Regions from separate parts of the Homo sapiens genome. Here all the other regions are linked to region 1. Evidence: promoter capture Hi-C in 16 types of primary human blood cells and fetal thymus (Javierre and others, 2016). All regions are on one chromosome and are shown on one strand. Each heading gives the region's core, a stretch centred on a gene start or on the middle of the fragment in contact. The rest is flanking DNA. Distances are from core to core; before and after follow the strand shown.

Region 1 (2,990 bases), core at 348-2,847:
TCAAGAATTTGACATCTCTGGTGTAGAGCTTTCAAATTATTTATTTTAGGTTTTATTGAAACTGAACAAACAAAATATTATTCATAAATCTATTATAAGACAGAGAAAAACTGCTCAATTCTGGGTGGGGTGGAAGTAGGAATAGGGGTACAGCTCTGTCCTTCGTCATTCTACTTATGCATAAAGCATGTTCTATTGAATTCCTTAGAGTCTGGACAGCACAGTTTGAAAAACCTTCAGTGAAATACAAAGATCACTAGATTAGAAATCGAAGGATTTAGAATCCCAGTTCTGCTATCAGCCAGCTGTGTTACTGAACCTCTATGGTACAGATTTCCTCACCTGTTAAATAAGGAGAATGAACTAGGTCTCTTTCAGGTCAAATATTTGAGGAAACCATTAGCAACTACATGTAAATCACAAAACTCCTATACTTTATTTGTTCACTACTGCAAAATAAGATGTTTCCTGGGTAAAATCCACATGCCCACCTCAAAGTTCTAAGTGTCAGGAGATTTTTTCTTTTAACCTTAAGAAATTTAAAGGAGTTCTGTGAAAATTGCAATATAAAATATCTAATTGTCCTGTTCTAAGCAGTTTCAACATTTCTGACTCTATTTGGGATAATCGGTGGTATTTCATTGATTCATTCGGCAAACACATTGAGTGTCCACTACCTGACAGGAACTGAGTTAGGTATAGAGGACAGAAAAGATGACTAAAGGATGTCCACTACTCTCCTCCCAATACAAAAGGTAATGTGTTTTGAACAATTTGTGTTTTTCAACGAAACCTTATCTGTTGTCTGCGATGATGCATCCTTTCTAAATGATAGGGGTGGCTTTGACATTTTAAAACTAAATGAAAAACGAATTGGCATCCATAAAGAACTGTGTATTTAAAACTATATTTTCTTTTCACAGAATGGCTTTATTGTAATAGATCTTTGATCAACTTGAGCAAAGAGTATTTAGTTTTATAGGGTATGACATGTTTTGCTTTCTGGATAAGCAGGGTCTCTCTTAAATATGAAGATGGCTCCAGTGTCCAGAGGGAGACTAAAATCTCTCAGCTGCCAGCCACGCACATTACCTGAATGATTCTGGATTACTACTGGCTTCTTGAGATGGGCTGGGGTCAAGACAGGGAAGAGTTTTGAATGAAGATGCCAGAAGAGGCCTTTGAGAGGGTGGATGGGAATTGCGAAAGGCCCATTTCCCCTAGACTTAAACCCAAATTCCCTAGCTGTGATGATACCAGGAACATCCTTCAGGGAAATCTCCCTTTGTTATCCACACTGGTAGAGCTCCCAGCTCAATCCACAACTGCACACCCCCTCACTCTAAGAGTCACTCTTCCCATGGTGTAGCCAACATCCACCCTCTTACTCTAGACGTGGCAGCCCTCCTAGATCCACCCAACCGTTGACTTACGTTCAAAGGCCATCACCCACCCCAGCACCATCTTCCAGGAACTGGCCTCTCCCCCATCAGTCCCCGCCCCTCTTCTGAGAGCACCCAATGGGTGGAGTCGGGGCTGCGGTGGGAGGGGCCTGAGGCGGGCACATTTAAAGAAAGGCAGCCGGCGAAAAGAGGCAAGAGAGGAGAAGAAAGAGAAACCAGGGGGGCGAGGCGCCGTCCAATGACAAAGCCCAGGGGTGGGCGCCGGCCGCCATCTTGTACCGGGCAGCAGGATATTCGCCCGCGTCCTCCGCCCTCGGAGGGGGAGGGGCGGCGGCGGAGGCGAGAAAAGTAGCGAGAGACGCCAGCAGCAGCCGCCGCCGCGGAGCCAACGCGGACTGGGACGGCGGCGGCAGTAGTGGGACCCGGCGAGCGTGAGTGGCCCGGAGCGGCCTTCGATGCGGCGCAGTATGAAGAGGCGGCGGCGCCGGCGCCCGGTCGCCCCGGCCACGGCCGCCCGGGGCGGCGACTTTAGGGCAGAAGACGGGGCTGGGTTGGAGGCGCGGGAGGAGAAGGTGGTGTACTCGCGGTCGCAACTGTCGCTGGCTGACAGCACCAAGGCGCTGGGCGACGCCTTCAAGCTCTTCATGCCCCGCAGCACGGAGTTCATGAGCTCGGACGCGGAGCTCTGGAGCTTCCTCTGCAGCCTCAAGCACCAGTTCTCCCCGCACATCCTGCGCAGCAAGGACGTCTACGGCTACTCCTCCTGCCGGGCCCTGGTACCCGACCCCCCGGGGCCCCCTACAGCCCGCGGCCAGGCGCGCCGGCCGGTTCCGCGCGCAGCGGCCAGGAGGAGGCGCCGCGGAGCCCGGGCGGCCGCTGCCCGCAGGAGGAAGCCCCGGCCGCCACCCCCACCGCCGCCGCCCCCCGAGGAGAGCTGCCCGGCCAAGCCCGTGGCCCCCGGGCCCTGCTTCGGGGGCCGCACCTTGGAGGAGATCTGGAGGGCGGCCACCCCGACGCTGACCACCTTCCCCACCATCCGCGTCGGCAGCGACGTGTGGGGCGAGCGCAGCCTGGCGGCAGCGCGGCGCAGGGCGCGCCAGGTCCTGCGAGTGAACCTGGAACCCATGGTGAGGCTCCGCCGCTTCCCGGTGCCCCGGGCATGAGGTGCGGCCTCCAGGGCGCCTCCTGCCGGCCCCGACCTTGGGACAGGCCTTCCGCCCGGAGGAATGAACAAGTGTCAGTCGAGTGTTTACAGATCCGGCCAGGACCCCGGCCCCCAATGCACTTTACGCGCGAAGAAGTTGCCGGATGGTTGTCCCTGTCCCGGGCCGCGGCGCGGTCGTCTTGGACGCTGGGGCAGGTGTGCCCTCTGCTGCCTCCCGTACCCGGCCTGCGGAGGGAGGGGACAGCTGGACCCGCAGGGGAGGTCCCTTTCTTCCTGACCACCGATTGAGACGTCTCCAGGACCTTAGGGGCAGATCCGTTTTCTCACTGTTGGACTCTACCTCACTGGTCTGGAAGTCCTCCGAAGACATTATTTTTCCAAAGGAATTTGGTTTCGTGCTTGTGTAATAAAGCCAGAATTTA
Region 2 (2,990 bases), core at 276-2,775, 490 kb after region 1:
GCTCACTCACGTGGGTGTTAGCAGGCCTCGGGTTCTTGCTGAGAGCTGGAGACCTCAGTTTCTTGCCACCGGGGCCTCTCCATAGGACTACTCCCAACATGACAATTTGATTCCTGCAAGTGGAGGGCTCTATGAGAAGAGCAAGCAATGGCACGCAAGGCCCAGGTCACAGTCCCTCTGCAAGCTAATCTCAGAAACGACATCCCATCATTTTTATTGTATTCTATTTGTTAGAAGCAGATCTTAGGTCCAACTACACTCAAGGGGAGGGGATTACACAGGGCGTGAGTACCAGGAGGCCAGGATCATTGAGAGCCATTTGAGAGACTGCCTAACACAGTATCATTTGAGCCCCTGGAGGCAGCCATGCCTGAAGCCTGATTCCTCCTAGTCTTCTCAGTTATGAGAGGTGATATATTCTCTCTTTGTAAGAATCAGTTCAAGTTGGGTTTCTGTCATGTCATGTGTAGCCCAAAGACCTCTTCACTAAAACGTTAATACGCATCCTGAAGGTCCACACCAATAAAACCAGAGTGGCAAGAGAGTTCATCAGACAAGCTTTCCCTGGAGTGGATGCAATTCTTTTTTAGGTTTTATTGTTTTGTTTTGTTGTTTTGGCAGCTCTATGCCCAGTGCCTACCAAGCAGAATTCTTAACTGTTCTGTACAATCCTTGATGGTATTTTTGGACTTATTCTGCCTGGTTATAAAAATCTAGCATTCTCAGATTCTTCTCAGCTAATTTAGCATGCCTGTGTGCAGTGTGAGAGCATGCCAAACTCAAAATTTTCCTGCCAAAAATGACAGTAACTAGAATTAGACCATCAGGAGTGCAATTAGTTTAGACATGCTATTAACACCCCAACCATGAACACAGAAGGAAAAGCTGGAAAAAATGGAAAGTTAAAAGAAAAATAAGTTAGCTCAGTTAATGGCAAACAATAAAATAAATTTCTACCCTGAATTCGATGTTGTTGTGGTTTTGGTTGTTTGTAAATGATGCAAAATTTTAACAATCACTTGCATAAATTTAGCAGAAAAACAACCTACCATGTGTCTCTGGCTAATAAACTATACTGTGGAGAATACTGAGATTTGAGAATTTTCCCTTCTACACCCAGCCTTAAAATGTATTCTCTTTAGCACCCAATCACGGTGGATGGTATCACTTATCTCTCAGACACTCAACCATGACATAAAAGCTGTATGAGTTGGTTTGCTTTATGAAAGATATCATCTGTGTGTGTATTGCCTAAATATGTGTGTGTGTGTGTGTGTGTGTGTGTGTGTGTGTATCTAGATATATTTTTAAACACCGGCTCTTACTACATTGCCCAGGCTAGAGTGCAGTGGCTATTCATGGGTGCAATCACAGCACATTGCAGCCACAAACTCCTGGGCTCAAACGATTCTCCTACCTCAGCCTCCTACCTCAGCTGAGGGCACCACTACACTCACCTCATAAAATACATTATTTAAAAAAAAAAATTCAGCCACTCTTTTGAGACAAGGTCTCATTCTGTTGCCCAGGCTCGAGTGCAGTGGCACGATCTCGGCTTGCTGTAGCCTCGACCTCCTAGGCTCAAGCCATTCTCCCACCTCAGTCTCCTGAGTAGCTGGGACCACAGGTGTGCCCCACCATATCCAGCTAATTTTTTTTCTTTTTTGTAGAAACAGGGTCTATGCTGCCCAGGCTGATCTTGCACTCCTGGGCTTAAGTGATCCTCCCACCTTGGCCTCCCAAAGTGTTGAGATTACAGGTATCAGCCACCACGCCTGGCCAGTAATTATATTTTTAATAGGAGATGCTCACATGCACAACAGGGTTCCACTCTCCTCTACCATCAGGGGTTGTCAAACTTGAGTATGCTTCCAAATCATCTGGGGGCTTGTTGAAACAGATGGCTGGACCCCATCCCTGAGTTTCTGATTCAATTGGTCTGGGGTGAGGACCTAGAATCTGCATTTTGAACCAGTTTCCAGCTGATGCTCCTGCCGGTTGAGGACCAGTGCTCCAAAAGCTGAAGGGAACTTGTTCTTCTCACAGCCACTCTTAGGCCCCTGGCTCACTCATGGGGCCTCTAGAACTCTCACCTTTCTCTGGCATTGCTAATTCTCCAACCGCCATCCCTCTCTTTCAAGTCCATTCCTCCTAGCCACCAAGAAAGGCAACCCAATTTTGTGACATTTCTAGCATTCGTTAGCTTAAAAAATTTAATTTCTGATGACATCTTTCTCATTCTAAATAAATGTTCCTTTTTGTATCTAGTTTTTATTCCAAATTTTGTGCTCTCTCGCTTACAGACCACTCACATACACACAATTACGTCAACCTTCAGGCCCCACCAGACTAATAGTCCATTATCGCATTGCTATAAAGAAATACTTGAGACTGGGTAATTTATAAGAAAAGTGGTTTAATTGGCTCATGGTTCTGCAGGCTGTACAGGAAGCATAGAGGTTTCTGCTTCTGGGGAGGCCTCAGGAAGCTTCTGATCATGGCAGAAGGTGAAGGGGGGGCTGGCATTTCTCATGACAGAAGCAGGAGCAAGAGAGAGCAAGGCAGGAGGTGCCACATACCTTTAAACAACCAGATACTACAAGAACTCACTATCATTACGACAGTACCAAGAGGATGGTGCTAAACCATTCATAAGAAACACCCCCATGATCCCATCACCTCCCACCCGGCCCCACCTCTAACACTGAGAATTACAATTGAACATGAGATTTGGGTGGGGACATAGAGCCAAAACATATCAACCACAAAACCTGGACTGGCTTCACTGCATGGAGCTCTTCATGGGAGGGGCCTGAGAGAGGGAGACTACCTAAAGTAGCTGTTCGGTATCTCCAAAAACTCCCCCTACACCCTCTTCCACACAGACAGAGGGAAACTCCTCAAAAGGCACTGACCTTTTAGAAGGAGACTTGTGCTAAGCACTGACTCCTGGAGGGGAGGTCGCATGCCTTCAGCATAGCATGAGGAAG
Region 3 (2,990 bases), core at 135-2,634, 490 kb before region 1:
AAAAATATTCAATAGAGTAATGACTATAAATGAAACCATTTTTAACAGGTCATTTGGTAGAAGTAATATTTATTTAACCCATCACTGCATACTAATTTTAGAAATATGAAAAGTTTATCAAGATCTACCACTACAGGAACCTTTTGGAATATAACCCTAAACTGAATTACATTTCAAAATATCATACCTGAGCAATGATTTGTTCTCCATCGTTGTATACTTTGGTGCCTATCACATCTACTACTTTCAGGCGTTCAGAAAACTACAAAGAAAGAAAAACAATATTAAATAGAAACAAATTAACTGGGTAAGCTTATCTAGTTCGGGAGTAAAAAACTGGTAGCCTATAGGCCAAATAAATCGAGCAGTGTGTAGGTTGTATATGTGTTTGTTGTATTAATTACCAGCCAGCATTTTAAAATAATTTTTCATAAAAATTCAATCTCCAGCTTCTCTTGAAAAATCAGCATCACATAGCCCATATTTCCACATGGCAACAATAAAACTATGGTGGGATAGCAGCTGTTTCTTTAATGAAATACATGTTCTCCAATCTGCCAAAGTCCCTTCCTGGCTTGGTTTTCTTCTCTGTGTTACCTGCCTAGCTCTGAAGGCACCAGATTTCCAATCCCTGACCTACTCTTATTTAAAGAAATATGCTGCTGGAAAAGATCAGCTGTCTACCACGCACTGTGTGATGTGGACAAAATTTTTACCAGATGTAAGCTGATAATCCAACAGAGACATTCAAAAGGAGAAGCACTGCTGTTTTGACACTTGCCATTTTATAAGATGTTGTGGGTACATATATATGCCTGTCTTTAATTACTCTCAAAATACTTCAAATATGACAGTGAAATAGAAAAGCATTTAATTTAATGATGAAGTATGGAAAATGAAGCTGAATTTTTAGGGTAACAACAACCTACTCTCTCTCATAAGTCTCTACCTTCAAAGATAAAAACCTAAGAGCTGGTCTCATTGAGAAGACCTCTGGGCTGAGAAATGAAGGAGCCCTGCAGCTGTGTAGGAAGACATTCCAGACAGACGGCAAGTACAAAGACCCCGAAGTGGGTGTGGGACAGGTGTGTTTGAGGAGTGGCAAGAAGCTGATGTGTCAACAGAGAGATGATGAGTGTGGAGCAGTAGGAAATGAGGTTGGGGAAAATGGGTGGGGGAATGGGACAGTCTGTGCAGAGCCTTAGAGGCCATGTGAGGAGGAGCTTAAATAGAGCAGTGCCACAACCAGGGATTTTAAAAGATGACTCTGCAATTAGCCAGGCAAGAGGTGATGGTGGTTCATATGAGTCAGTGCTAACTCGAAGGTTTTTGGCCTGAGACACTGGAAGGATATGTTGCCATCTGCGGGGAAAGAGAAAAGGAGTAGATTTGGGACATACTAGGTTTGAGATGTCTATTAGACATCTGAGAGGAAATCTTACATTTGCAGTTGGATAAGTAAGTCTGACCTTCAAGGGAGGGGCCTTGCCCAGTGATATCAATTTTAAGAAGCATCAATATATGGACAGTACAGGTGGTCCCTGACTTACAGTGGCTTGATTAATGATTTTTCAACCTTACAGTTGTTTGAAAGCGATAGAAACTATACTTCTAATTTTGAGTTTCGATCTTCTCCCAGGCTAGCGATATGCAGTACAACGCCAGGCAGAGAGCCACAACGCCCAGCCAGCCTCACCACAATGAGGTGAACAACCCATGCTCTCCAGTGCACTGTGCTGCCAGGTGACTGTTCCCAGCTGTAGGCTGATGTGAGTGTCCTAAGCATGTTTCAGGTAGGCTAGGCTGAGCTCGAATGTTCCATAGTTTAGGTGTATTAAATACATTTTCTATTTATGATATTTTCAACTCACAATGGGTTTATTCGTAAGGTAACCCCATAGTAAGTCAAGGGACATCTGTATTTAAGGCCATGGGATTCGACATGTTCACCAAGTGAATAAGTGTATCCTGAAAAGAGAAGAGGCCAAGGACAGAGGCCTGGAATGCCAGTTTTAAGAGGAGAAGAAAAGAGGAATAAACAGCAAAGATGACTGAGAGGAAGAGGCCAGAGAGGACATTCTATATCTAGAGAACGCCTCACTGTAAAGTTACAACTAGTGGCTCTTGTCTACATCTATGTGATTATATTAAGTCTGCTATCAGATAAAGACCACATATAAATTTGCTATAGATGCTGGGTAGGAATGTATTACTTTCAAATAACAAAACAAATGAAATTATAGATAGCAGAAGAAACAATGAGTTATAAAAATTAGCACTACCATTTAATCTTTTCAAATAAAAACATGGATAGATTTTTTTTTATTCAAAGAAATTTTTCTATAGAACTAAATATTCCTAGCAAAACAGAAACTTTTAAAGCAAAATAAAATAAAAGCATAAACATATACTTACCTCCAAAGATTTAAGGAATGGCAGTGACTCAATAAAGCTTTCATACATTTTTCTCTTTTTGGCATTGTTTTTCACAATTATTCTCCTGAAGGTTACCCTGTCCTACAGGCAGAACAGTTAAAGGGTAAATTTTATGGGGGTAAAGCTATACAAATAGTTTTATTTTATTCCCTACAAGAAACAATGATTGAAGATTCTGAAATAAAAGATTAACATCATTATACTTTTAATGCAACTCATTTCATATTTTTATTTCGTCAAGCACAAAATATAATACAGAACCACATAAAATACTGTTTTCTTTTTTTTTTTTTTTTTTTTTTTTAAAGAAAGCATCTGTTGACTTTTTATACATAACAGAAATCTGACCAATATGTTGGGTTCTGCCCACAAGGAGGCGCTGTCACAGCATTTTTAAATATGTATACTAGCACTCTGTTCTTTTACTCTGTTATGTACTCTACGTTCTTTTTCATATCCACATTATGTCAAAATTTTCTTGTCAAAAATGTGGAGGGATGCCCAAAGAAATTATAAATGCTTAAAGTGATGGCTACTCCATTTACCCTGATGTG
Region 4 (2,990 bases), core at 204-2,703, 470 kb after region 1:
AGCCTTGGGAACATGGTAAAATCCCATCTGTACAAAAAAATACAAAAAATTAGCCAGGTATGGTGGCATGCATCTGTAGTCCCAGCTCCTTGGGAGGCTGAGTTGGGAGGATCACTTGAGCCTGGTTGCACTGAGCTGTGTTCACACCACTGCATCCCAGCCTGGGTGACAGAGCCAGATCCTGTCTCAAAAACAACAAAAAAAAGTACACAGAGGTGAGAGCACATGTTCCTACAAGTGTCACAGAAACTCAGCTAAATAAACAATGAAGCAATATTAGCATAATCAAAATAAACATTTTTAAGCACAAAGTGTATGAGCCACAGCTTCAAGCTTGTAAACTTTGATTTTTAAAGGGACCAATAGAGGTTAAGTAAACAGACACTTAAACAGAAGTATCACTAGGAAGGGCCACACTCTGAAGCAGCAGTCTACTCAGACTTTGGACTCACAGCATTAGGTCACATTCTGAGTCTGACACTTAGCTGTGCAACCCTGGACAAGTTCCTTAACCTCTCTGGGCCTCAACTCTCCCATTTGTAAAATAAGAACAGTAGACTCCCATGATAGGGTTGGTTGTTGGAATGATTTAAAGAGATAATGCTGGTGAAAATGTTTAGCGTCGTTTCTAGCACACAGTAAACACTGAATTAAAGTTTATTGCTCACTCTTCCGAAGTGATTTGTATCTTTCTGTGGATGATCTAAACTCACAGGCCTCTTTTGATCTGGATATGGAAAATTCTCTATAAGGAATCATTTCATAAAAACATGTGCTTCCTCTCATTCCACTCTATGCAATTCAGTCACTCATTTAGCAAACATTTACTGAATATCTTCCATATGCCAGGCACTGTTCCAGACCCTGGGGTCTAGCAGTGAATAAAACAAAAATCCCTGTCCATTTAGAGCTCACCTTCTGTTGGGGAGAGGTAAGAAATAAACATAATAAGTAAGTTATATAGCATATTAGAATACGCTGTGCTATGCAGAAAAAATCAAGACAGGTAAAGGGAATTCAGAACAGGAAGGGTTGCAGTTTAAATAGGGGAGGTCATAGCAGGCCTCACGGAGAAGGTAACACTTAAGCAAAGGAGGTGAGGGAAAGAGTTACCCAGAGATCCGAGGGAAGAGGGGTCCAGGCAGAAAGGGCAGCCAGTGCAAAGGTCCTGGGGCAAGGCCATGCTTCACGTACTCCAGGATAGCAGGGAGGCGAGCATGGCTAGAGCAGAAGAAATGAGGGAATAGAAGATGAGGTCAGGGCATAGTTGGGGTCCTAACTAAGCCACTGTAAGGACTTTGGTTTCTACTTGAAGAGAAGTAGGGGGCCATTGAGTGGTTTTCAGCCAAGGGTCAAGGTGGGGGCAGGGCGAATTGCAAAGACTGAGGCAGGCAGACCTGTCAGGAGGCTCTTGTCGAAAGTCAAATGAGTGATTATGGCAATCAGAACAGGAAGGGAGCAATGGAGGTGGAGAGAAGTGTTAAGAAGATTCTGGCTATATTGTGAAACTGAGCTAACTGGATGCTATGAAGTGTGAGGGGTGGCGTAGGGTGGGGGCAGATGAGCCTGGTCTGAGCAAATGGGAAAGGACACAGCTGTCAATACTGTAATGGGGAAGGCTGGTGGAGAAGCATCTTAGCAAGGACCAGGTCAGTGATTAGGTGTTTGGCTATGTACACACTGAGTTTGGGATATCAAGGACATAGCTGGAAGTTGGAGGCAGTTGGTTTCTACAGTTCAGGAGAGAAGATATAGAAAGACCTCAATTATGTGTTAGAAACTAAACTGCCCTAGCTATGATCTTTATGTCCTTTGTCCTACTACAATTAGCTTTGAACCCGTGGTTCTCCAATGTTAGTGTTCACAAGAATCACCAGAAACACTGGTAAAATTACTGATTCCTGGGTCTCATCCCCGGAAGTTCTAAATCAGTTGATCTTGTGTGAGGGGACATGGGTCAGGGAAAACAGGAAATTAATATTTTTAAGTTTTTGGGATTCTTTTCCAAGTGGCTCATGGATCGCCATCTGAAAAATCTTGGGATCGTTTCCTCCCCCAACCCCACTTCCTCACTCAAATATTCCAGCCACCTAGGCAATATTCATTTAATTTCTCAAACCACTCAGAAAAATACACCCTCCCTCAAAATATTCCAGATTTAGAAAAAAGTGGCGCTGGACAGACACTTCATTTGAAGGACATTTCACCTGCTATGCACTACAGAGTCTGAATGCTGGTTTGGCTCCACTTCCAGCAGGCGGGCTGTGGCATAATTGGAAAGAGTGTCCAGTGTGGCCCTCAGTCCTTCAGATCTGTGCCCTTTTCCTTAATTCCATATGCCCTCGTGTTGTCCCAGAACCCTTCCATCCGTCATAGAATTAAAGAATTTGGATAATGTGTTTATCTGCAAGTGTTACTGATTCAATCTGTTACTTCTTTCAGAATTGAGCCAGAAGGGAGGGCAACAATTAAACAAAAGTCTTGCTCCCTTATGGTGCAAGAAAGAGAAGAGGAAGGAGATATGTTAGCATATACGGATGCATGACCTCTGGTTTCCCCCGAATACAAGCTTTGTTGCAGCTACCTGTGCTGTCCACGCATGACACTACCTGTGGCAGCCATAAAAATAGACCTTTCAGATCAATGATTGCAGGGAGAATAACTGCCTGACAGCTGAGCTGAGGTGCTCAGAATCCACCACTGTGTTTGTCTGCACAGAGGCCATGCTTCATGCAGGCTGGGGCACAAAGGCAGGTCTATGCCTGTGAAACCAGGACTCTTCCAATGAGGACTTTCGCTTGAGGCCTCCCCATCAGCCTGGCTGAACCTTTCCTAGACCTGCACCACAACCTAAGACTTTCTACCCAACCTTTCCTCCTTCCCTCTCTCCTCCCCAGGGGCAGACTTGTATCACAGTCTGACAGCTCTCCCAGCCTCCTCCAGCTCCCTCCTCCTATTCCTCAAGGCATATCCCCCAAAACAGTCCTTGC
Region 5 (2,990 bases), core at 275-2,774, 440 kb after region 1:
TATGAAAATTGAAGTTCAGGAGGAGTGAGTGACTTGCCCAAGTTTTCACCATGCAGAGCCATGACTCAAACCCAGGTTGTCAGACCTCCAGCCCACAGCTCTTTCTACCAGGGCCTGATCTTACCCAAACTGCACACACAGCCCTTCTTGTCATTACTTACCTGTTGGTTGCATGCCTCTTAAGTGTAAAACTTTGGGCTGGAGTTACTTGGAACCTGCTGCCATGGCAACTGGTGGGGGCAGGAGCAGGTCCTTTCTAGGGAATCTAGGGCTGCATCAGGGAGGCAACAGCTTACAAGACTAGATACTCCTGCTGTCTGCAGACACATCATATTTCTGGTCCTTTCCTCACCTTCCTCCTCTATTACCTTGCCCTCATGGTCAATCTAAATCACAGAACTAGGAGGGCTAGAGAGGAAAATGTTCCATGTTAGCTCAAATGCCAAGAAGGAGCCAGTGACTGCAACATATATTTGGAGAAGATCTTATGGAATTAAGCTCAGAATAAACTTTCTGAACCCCAGGTAAATTATCAAAGAATGGGGCTTTATTTGTTCTGCGCCTCTGCATCTATATGAAAAGATAGTCCTGGGCTACTTTCTCCAATCATACAGATTGGACCTAAGCTTGTAAGTGGCTCCCAAGTCAGAAGGTATTTGGATTTGTCTCCTCTCCAAAAGTCCTCAAGCAGACCCTTGATTTTTGTCCCACCCAGTAAACATGCCAAGTGCAAGGTAACTACACAGTTAAAGGAGTAGCAATTAAGTGAAATCTTGGGGAGGAAGGCATGGTTTTTCTACCATGGGAAGGACAGCAGGGACTCCTTCCTCCTAATCTTCCTCCTACTGTCTTCCTGGGAACTGGACTTCTCCTGATTTTGTCTCTCAGCAGGAAGAATGAGGCGGGGCCACATCTAAAGTGGTCATAGCCCCCAGGAGCTGATAGGCAAGGAAGGATCTTGGGTCGACCTGTACAAAAGGGCCCAGAGGAAATCCTTTGTTCTGATGTTGAGACACAGCTGTGTGGAAGGAAACCAGGCACAGCCTGTGCACTGATAGACTGGGGAGGTGAAACACTTCAACCATCCCTTTGTTCTCTAGTGCTGTTGCTCTATCTTCCTTTCTATACCTTCCCCCATCCTACCCCAACAAGAACCAGATAGCGCCTTCCTGAACTGATCAGTTTCTCACCTTGCCTTTTTTAAAAAACCGCCATTGGTACAAACAGATGTGGTAGTGAAGGTGAGTGTGATTTTCCTTCAAGATACAGGATCAGAGACACCTCTGCTTATAGCCTGTCCTACCTGCTCATCACTTTACTATTTGTTTTTGGTTTGGTGTGAACCAGGGTCTGCTCAATCCAACTCTTCTGCTCTCTAACCTTCACACAGTTTCCCCACACAACCTTCCCACATTTTACTAGTAGCTGCCCATTCCTCTCCATCCACAAAGTTACTGAGGGAGAAGCCATGTTTGGGCAGGGTGACCTGACCCCACACACCACCGCATCTCCTTAGCCCAATGGGCCAAGCCCATGTCCTACTCCTGGGGAGCTTGGAATTCATGCAGGAGAGACAGCTCAGAAGCTGTTGACAGTAGCTGGTTTTTGCCAAGTGGATTAGTAAGCAGAGAAAGCTGCTCTGCAGCCAGATGGATGGATGGATGGACTTGCATACAAGCAGGAAAAAGAGAGTGAGGGAAGCCTTAACTGTCCACGGTGCTTTCATTCCTAGTTCCAGAACATCCCTAAGGCCCAGCTGCCTCTTGACTTTGGCTTCGTTGATAATCCTCTAGCTTGAGCTAGTTTATGTGGACTTCTGTTGCTTACCTGAAACCAAAAGAACCCCCATTTATCAGAAATCACCTCTGAATCCATTAGCTGGAGAATGGCCAGAGCTGGAGCACCGTAAGATCTCCCCCCAAAAAACACTCCTGTGAGGCCTGGAAAATCCTCCTACTGTATCATTTGAGCCACATTTTACCATCTCACCCACAAGGGTGAAATGCAAGTTTGGAGAATGACTCCATGACATCCAGACACCTTCTCACTCCCCATTTAACTTTGAGCTGGCACATTAACCACAACTGCCAGCTCACATTCATTTTAGCTGCCATGTTTTAGGAAGGACAGTAATGGTTCACAGTCCTTTATCCAAATTCTTGAAGCCCAGTGTTTTGGAATTCAAAATTTTTCAGATTTTAAGAAGTATGGCCCATTATAAATTACATTATAAATTATATAACTCCCCTGGAAGGGTCTATGACTGTCTCCTAATCAAACAAAATGCACTAATATTTAAAAAATGGAATAAATAATGATTATAAGTAGTTTCATGTCAAGTTTTCCTTCCAAACAGTTTCAGATTAACTCAGGACAGGTGTTGCCTCAAGTGAGTTACTAAAAATCTTAGTTTCAAAGCTTTCAATATTGCAGTCATGAACGATTATGGTTGCCCATTTCACAGATAAGTAAATTGATGACCAAGAAGGCTAGGTACCTTACTCGGGCAGTCTGGCTCTAAAGGCCACAGCCTTCACTACCATCCCATCCTGCCACTCCACTGTTACACTGCCTCTTCAAACTTAACCCTAACCAAGAGTGGCAGGCTGATGCCAGATCTGCTAAACCCTATGGAAAAAATCAGAATGGGAGCTGTTGAACAGAATAGACAAAGCCAAAAAGGAGATGTGGTCATCTTCTTCAGATAGCCATCTTTTCCGCAAATTCTTTCCCTAAGGCCATTTTTAACCAGGGGACACTGGGCTACCAAGGACACTAAGAACAATCTTGCAAGGAGAAAGAGGTGTTGAGGTTCTGAGCGAGAGGTATGCAAAGGATGAGTAGAGGTTAATCCTAATCTTTGCCAAGTAAAGCAAAGGAAAGCTATGAGTGTCAACAGCCTCAGGTCTTTATCTTTTAGTTTGTTCATTCATCACTCATTGGGTGCCTACTTTGTGTACAATGCAATCAGTGCTGGAAAATGCCAGAGA
Region 6 (2,990 bases), core at 125-2,624, 410 kb after region 1:
TTTGTTGGGTTTTTTCCTTTGCAGTGTTGAAAACAAAGAAAGTCAATTCGAGACTATTAAAAAAGTCAATTTGAGACTATTTGGTGAGAATGTGGTAACTTTGATACACATAAGGCTGTTACACTTATGATTTTCTAATAACTTCTGAAAGTTCTGTTTAAAACAGAGTCAGCCTTTCCAGTTGCTTTCTGTTTGACTATTCTCATGAAATAAATGGTTACCAAACTTCACTTGCCACATTCTATCATCAAAGTGATTGAATATATTAAGGCAGATGCTAGGTAAATAAACTTGACTTTGGTGAAAGAAATACAAATGACATTGGTAATAAACACATCTTTAAAGTTGTATGTCCCTTGAAAGAACTCTTTTAGAACTGTTCATACAGGTCTCTCTAGCTGGTTTATAACTAATCATTCTCCCAAAAATGATACAGTAATCTTAACACCCACAGCACCTGTGCATAATTTTGTTTCTGGCACTGGTATATCAGCCAGAATAAAATGACTCTACCAGTATACCAACTGTTATATAGGAGAAGTATTTTATACTCTTTTGCCACCAATATCTTTGATTCTTACATGTTCCATTACATATGACATGTAATTATACAGTGTATTGTGACTTATTGGTGATGATTACAGTCATTCCTAGAGTCTAGTAAATTGGCTCCCATTGCTTGTGTTGCTGAGATCTGGACAATAACTTAACGAGGTGAATGAGAGAAGTTGACTCAAGTAATCTTAGATATTTATAGCTAGTTTTTTCTCACTTTCTCTCATTTCCTTCACTCCCCGAATCCTACCAGAACCACAGTGACAGCAATGCAGATTCAGGAACTATGCATGAAATCCTCTCCTTCCACACATATCCATCTTTTGGGGGTGGGTGGGTCTTTAAAAACAAAATGCGGGCTATAATTATTTATTGACCGTGTTATAAAACAGTCTTGGATGCTTCATTCATCAATATTGTCCCTTGAAAATAATCTCCATTCTCTTCCAAATTAAGGTTTGGTTTGGTTTTGTTTTGTTTTAATCTTCTAGATTGTAGAAGGCATGAAACAAAAAATGTGGAGTATTGAAAATATTGCCTTCGGTTCTGGTGGAGGTTTGCTACAGAAGTTGACAAGAGATCTCTTGAATTGTTCCTTCAAGTGTAGCTATGTTGTAACTAATGGCCTTGGGGTATGTCACCTTTTAATTACTTCTGTGTTACTACCTTCCTTATGTATCTAGGTAGAATGTGGTTATTGAGTGCATTTGTCAAAGATTGATGTGGCCGTGGACTGTTAATATGTTGTTGGGTACTACTGACCTTAACTCAGAAACAAGGAAAGAAGGGAGATATTAGGTAATAACAGACCTAAGGAGACAGAGATTTGGAAAAAGGAAGAACAATAAGGAAAAAGATTATTTAAGAGAGATAATACAGGTCAGTCATTTCCCACTGCCGTTTTTACCTTTAGATCAAAAAGTAATATTTGAGTAGGAATGTCAGCTTACCTAGCCATCATATATTAAAGACAAGCAAGTATATAATCACTGACCAAACTGTTACAGGAAGGTAGAATATGAGGTTTGGATTGTTATACCACAGTCATGTTCTAGTAGCCATAGAACAGCTAGGCAAGTGAACAACAACCCCCCTTGCTTCTTTGTAACGTCTTGAGAGCTGGAGATTCTATAGAGCAAGGGACAGAGGCAGGAGGATGCTAAGAATTAAGAACACCTGAGTTGATTCCCTGCTTCACTCTTTGATCTTTCTTTGGAAAGTTCTGGGATTGACTCATTTGTTGCTGCTTGTTCCACTGCCACTTGTTTCTGTTTCTTTGCTGCCTACCTTTCTGATGTAGAAACACTCTGCTGTCTTCAGGTTCTCTAAGACTTTTGCTTCTGACAATAACAAGGCAAAAGTAAAAAGTACCAAAAGAGGGATACGTTATGAAATAGGAAAGCCTTTACCTTAGTAATACTCTTGTTCCCTCTCCAAAGATTGTGTGTGTGGTTTTGGCGTAGTTGGTATAGTTGGGCTTTTCTTCAACAGCATGTACATGCTGTGCTTACTGTCAGTTTAAAGGCAGTTTGTAATATAAAGAGATACCTTAAGGGTCACATGTTAGAATGCTCACAGACTTCCTACAAATGGAGTATTAGGTGTTCTTCAGTGGCAAAAAGGATATCCAAGATGTCATACTTTTTCTTTATTACAAACGACTATCCTTCAAAACAGGCTAAAGTGTTATGTTTCTGAAAGCCAGATGTGGATTGGTTCAGTTATACCTATTAAGTGCTTAAAACTTAAATGTAAATTATGTATGTGCTTTTTTGTAAGGGAGTGTTTAGACATTTCTGATGATTAGTCTTCTACTTGTCTAACTTTCTTAATTTGGATTTCAGATTAACGTCTTCAAGGACCCAGTTGCTGATCCCAACAAAAGGTCCAAAAAGGGCCGATTATCTTTACATAGGACGCCAGCAGGGAATTTTGTTACACTGGAGGAAGGAAAAGGAGACCTTGAGGAATATGGTCAGGTATGTATCTATGCTGATTGGTTTTTTTAAGCAATAGTAGGTTGGCTCACCAAATTAATAAGAAAGGAGGTTTTTATGTTATTGTTTTTGTGGAAGACAAAGTATTATATTTTATTATAAAATGTCCAATTGCTGACCTGGCCTACCAAAATAAGATACAAAACAAGTGTCTACGTCATAAACACGGGGCCTGTGTATACATAGGGAGAAATATTACGTAAGTATAGTGATTGACAGCAAGTTTGTATACACTTTATCCAAAAGCAAACTATGTTACTTTAATATAAAATGTGAAAACAAGGTGACTTGATTTGGATTACATAATAAATGGTGAAACCTTGATTTAACCAAGTTTTCTGATTCAAATCAACCAAACTAGAAAAATTTACAGTACACTAAAGTAGTTCATATGATCTAATGGTCTTTAGCATACAAAAGTACATTTATATTTGTGAA
Region 7 (2,990 bases), core at 353-2,852, 280 kb after region 1:
CTCCTCCTCCTCTTCCTCCTCCTCCTCCCAGGCCTGGGCCAGTGCCAGGAAAGTAGAGTGACCAGCAGACAGGTCCTGCATGGCCCAAGGGAGAACAGTCACCAATATCTAGGGACAGGATTCAAGAGGACAACAGAGAATGTAAAGGATAATTTTTACTTGTTAAGGCTTTTTCAGGCTTGCAGTCTGGCTTTGAAGATGGCAGTTAAGATGCTATGGGCAGGAAGAACATTAAAGTACTATGTGATGATTACACATCTCTTTTAAACGATGCTCTTGATTTGTAAAATTCTGCAGAACTTCAGAAATCTCCAAATGTCTCCAAATTCCAATTTTTCAGCATCTAAATGATATCTCCCACACTGCCTCTCACATCTGGAAAAAGCACAAAACCCTTTGTGGACAATATGACTGGCTGATTGTCTTTGAAAATGATTCCTGTAGCTATTCATAGATGTCATGAACTCATTTGTCCAACATGTGTATAAGCACCTATGTGTGCCAGTCTAATACTGTCACTGAAAACACAAGGAAAACGGCCCAGGAGTTATAGACGAGTAGTTACAGATATGTCTGTAGGATCTGAGTTCCTAATACACAAAATTGGAAAAGATATATGCAGCGGAGGAGCCCACCATTCCCACTGCTGTACCTGTTGAGATACATCATTGTAGTGAAGTTCCCTGAGCACATTTTCCCCACGCCATCAAATCTAGATTTGAGTCATTAGACCAAAGAACACAGCTCCACAGAAGCACTTGCCTATTTTGACCATCAGATGCTGTGATCACAGTTGCTGAAAGTAGAGTCCCTGGAGAGATCTGATAAGAAAGCAAAGACTGGAGAGAAGGGATGTCAAACTGCTGCATCGTGGTGGCAGATGTGCACATGGAGGGAACACAGAGGGGCACACCAGAAACATCCTCAAAAAACAAACTGCTCACTGTGGGAACTTAAAGTCTATGGAAAGCTAAGTGACTGCACCCCATGTGTGGTAAGTTAGGACAAGTTGCTTGTCTCTGATGCTCTGTCTCCTACATATTGCTGTTTGCTACCCCACCCCCCAAAAAAAGCATTTTTATTACCCCTCTCCATACACTCATTCTTTCTTTCCCACAGTGTACTTAGCCCTCTGAGTCCCTTTCTTCCTTCAAAGAACAGGGCCCCGCAAGCCTTTGCCCTTTCTCGTTCTATGCAAAGGATAAACCTTACTAAATGTAACCTATGTTTGCAAACTTGGTGTCCCCCACTAACTTATATATAGTAGGTCCTGGCTTCCCTCTTTGAAGACCCTATCCGCTCTAGTATATCTGGGGACAAGGGTTATCTCACGAAGCTACGCCATTAATCTGCAGCCACAGTTGTGCCTGCAACATTCCTTCCATCCATATCTTTAGCTTCTGCTCCTCCTCAGATCTCATTTATTTTGCTGCCAGTCCCTCCCAGAGTTGTCCTGTGAGCTGTTCTTGTGATCACTGAGGCCTCTAATTCCCTCAATAGCATGGCTAAACCTAAGCTTGAATGAGTAACAGGACTTTAGTAAAGATTTGGAAATGGCACACAGGAATGATCACTTTGAGAAAGTCAAAACTGATACTAGAAATGTGGAATCATAAAGTTTACAGGCCGAGCCTCTCCACGTACAACCTTTATTGGGCACCTCTCAGCCCAGCTCCCAGCAAGCTTCACTAGTCCTAGACTCTGCATTTCCTCCCACCAGAGAGAGGGGAAGAGGCCTCCAGTTTTTCTCTTGCCCATAGGGTTCTTGTCTGCAATCCTGGTCTCAATATTCCCCAGGTTCTCTCTGTTTTCTCCCCTTTGTGCATGATTAACAGCTGAAATGTCCTTCCCATTCAGGGAGAGTTGGTCTTACCTTGGACAATGAACTAGGAGGCAGTAAATTACACATCAGTCCTTTTCCAAAGTCTGAGTTAGTATAGAATGTCGCAAATAGTGCTGCTTCAAACAAGCCCCACTTTAAATCTGGGCCCCCTGGTGATCTCTTCACCAGCCTGAGTAAGGATAGGACTCCAGTGCCCCACACTCACCCCCGAGAGCTTCCAGCCTCCACTCCAAAAAGGACATCCACATATTTTTCAAGAAAGCAAAACAATTTTCATAGGCTCTGCAGAATAAATCTTTAAACATTTTCCTGTAGAAAACAATTTGCAGAACTGCAACACCATCCACGATGAAAACAGCCTTTTATGTTTTTGTGCATGACACCGGAACCCCTCGGAAAGGCAGGGTCTAAATTTCTGTATTTGAGAATATTTACTTTTCCTTTTAATAACTAAATATCCATTGTAGTGTCTTTCCAGAACAAAGGAATATTTACCCCAGAGGACAATATTTGTCCCCCTGTTTTATAATACATCACACAAGAAAAGCTTTGAAAGTACAGGGTTTTTGTTTTTGTTTTTTTTCCAAGATTTCAAAGATCCCAAGATAAATTCTTTGTTAGGGATCAAGATCAAAGAGTTATGCCTTTCCTTTCCCCCAGGAGTCTCTGCCAGAAGGATGTTTTTCCCAAGCATATGGCCTAAAGTGGGGAGCCTGCATCATGTTTTGTCAGCAGGGTTACACAGATCCGTGATGGGGGAGGCATGGGGAGCTCCCGGAAAGGTCTTTAACATCTGCGCCCGGGCAGCAGGGCCTTGGTGTAAAGGCAGATGCTAATGACCATAAGCCAGGTGCCCTGATTATAGTTTCACATCCACCAGGGCTTGGAAAGCTATTAACTCCTAATCCCCAGCCCCTTTTCGGTCATCCCTTGTAGAGGCTAGCTCCAGAGCTGGTGGAACCCATGGCAGTGTGTCCATATCCGTGTATTCACTTTTAGGTTTGTAAATTCAGATATGGCAGGAATCAAATTCCTATAACCCCCTCTCTACACAGAGCATCTCACATGCACAGTCCTAGAATGCTAAACTTAGATGGAACCTTAGAGTTTCTCTAATCCAACCTCATCATTCATTCAGATAAATTAA

What was found. The method cuts DNA at HindIII sites, captures the fragments that hold promoters and counts their contacts. A CHiCAGO score of 5 or more calls a contact.
Region 2: a contact is called between a fragment that was not itself captured here and the fragment with the promoter of CCDC71L in region 1, in 7 of 17 cell types (M1 macrophages, M0 macrophages, endothelial precursors and 4 more). The highest score is 11.7, in M1 macrophages.
Region 3: a fragment that was not itself captured here is called in contact with the fragment with the promoter of CCDC71L in region 1 in 13 of 17 cell types (M2 macrophages, M1 macrophages, M0 macrophages and 10 more); the score reaches 11.9 in M2 macrophages.
Region 4: a contact is called between a fragment that was not itself captured here and the fragment with the promoter of CCDC71L in region 1, in 2 of 17 cell types (neutrophils and monocytes). The highest score is 5.7, in neutrophils.
Region 5: a contact is called between a fragment that was not itself captured here and the fragment with the promoter of CCDC71L in region 1, in 2 of 17 cell types (neutrophils and endothelial precursors). The highest score is 8.0, in neutrophils.
Region 6: a fragment that was not itself captured here is called in contact with the fragment with the promoter of CCDC71L in region 1 in 1 of 17 cell types (M1 macrophages); the score reaches 5.8 in M1 macrophages.
Region 7: a fragment that was not itself captured here is called in contact with the fragment with the promoter of CCDC71L in region 1 in 1 of 17 cell types (neutrophils); the score reaches 6.0 in neutrophils.

Annotation. Positions count from the first base shown.
Region 1 is chr7:106,659,765-106,662,754 of GRCh38, reverse strand. It overlaps CCDC71L (coiled-coil domain containing 71 like), which reads left to right and starts at 1,597. Exons shown (of 1, transcript NM_175884.6): 1 at 1,597-2,990. The coding sequence starts at 1,859. The coding sequence ends at 2,566. RefSeq lists a silencer at 2,154-2,423 and an enhancer at 2,774-2,823. The HindIII fragment of the contact is 5,408 bases long and covers 1-2,990 here.
Region 2 is chr7:106,168,208-106,171,197 of GRCh38, reverse strand. No RefSeq gene overlaps it. Among named protein-coding and RNA genes, the nearest start is that of SYPL1, 57 kb to the right of the region's middle. The HindIII fragment of the contact is 1,930 bases long and covers 561-2,490 here.
Region 3 is chr7:107,150,449-107,153,438 of GRCh38, reverse strand. PRKAR2B (protein kinase cAMP-dependent type II regulatory subunit beta) reads right to left here. Exons shown (of 11, transcript NM_002736.3): 7 at 2,416-2,517; 8 at 188-262. Among named protein-coding and RNA genes, the nearest start is that of HBP1, 17 kb to the left of the region's middle. RefSeq lists an enhancer at 363-1,562. The HindIII fragment of the contact is 2,140 bases long and covers 315-2,454 here.
Region 4 is chr7:106,194,121-106,197,110 of GRCh38, reverse strand. No RefSeq gene overlaps it. Among named protein-coding and RNA genes, the nearest start is that of SYPL1, 83 kb to the right of the region's middle. The HindIII fragment of the contact is 2,236 bases long and covers 336-2,571 here.
Region 5 is chr7:106,217,372-106,220,361 of GRCh38, reverse strand. No RefSeq gene overlaps it. Among named protein-coding and RNA genes, the nearest start is that of NAMPT, 66 kb to the left of the region's middle. The HindIII fragment of the contact is 1,792 bases long and covers 629-2,420 here.
Region 6 is chr7:106,252,561-106,255,550 of GRCh38, reverse strand. It overlaps NAMPT (nicotinamide phosphoribosyltransferase), which reads left to right. Exons shown (of 11, transcript NM_005746.3): 9 at 1,047-1,187; 10 at 2,400-2,534. Among named protein-coding and RNA genes, the nearest start is that of NAMPT, 31 kb to the left of the region's middle. The HindIII fragment of the contact is 3,841 bases long and covers 1-2,990 here.
Region 7 is chr7:106,379,303-106,382,292 of GRCh38, reverse strand. No RefSeq gene overlaps it. Among named protein-coding and RNA genes, the nearest start is that of NAMPT-AS1, 96 kb to the right of the region's middle. The HindIII fragment of the contact is 167 bases long and covers 1,519-1,685 here.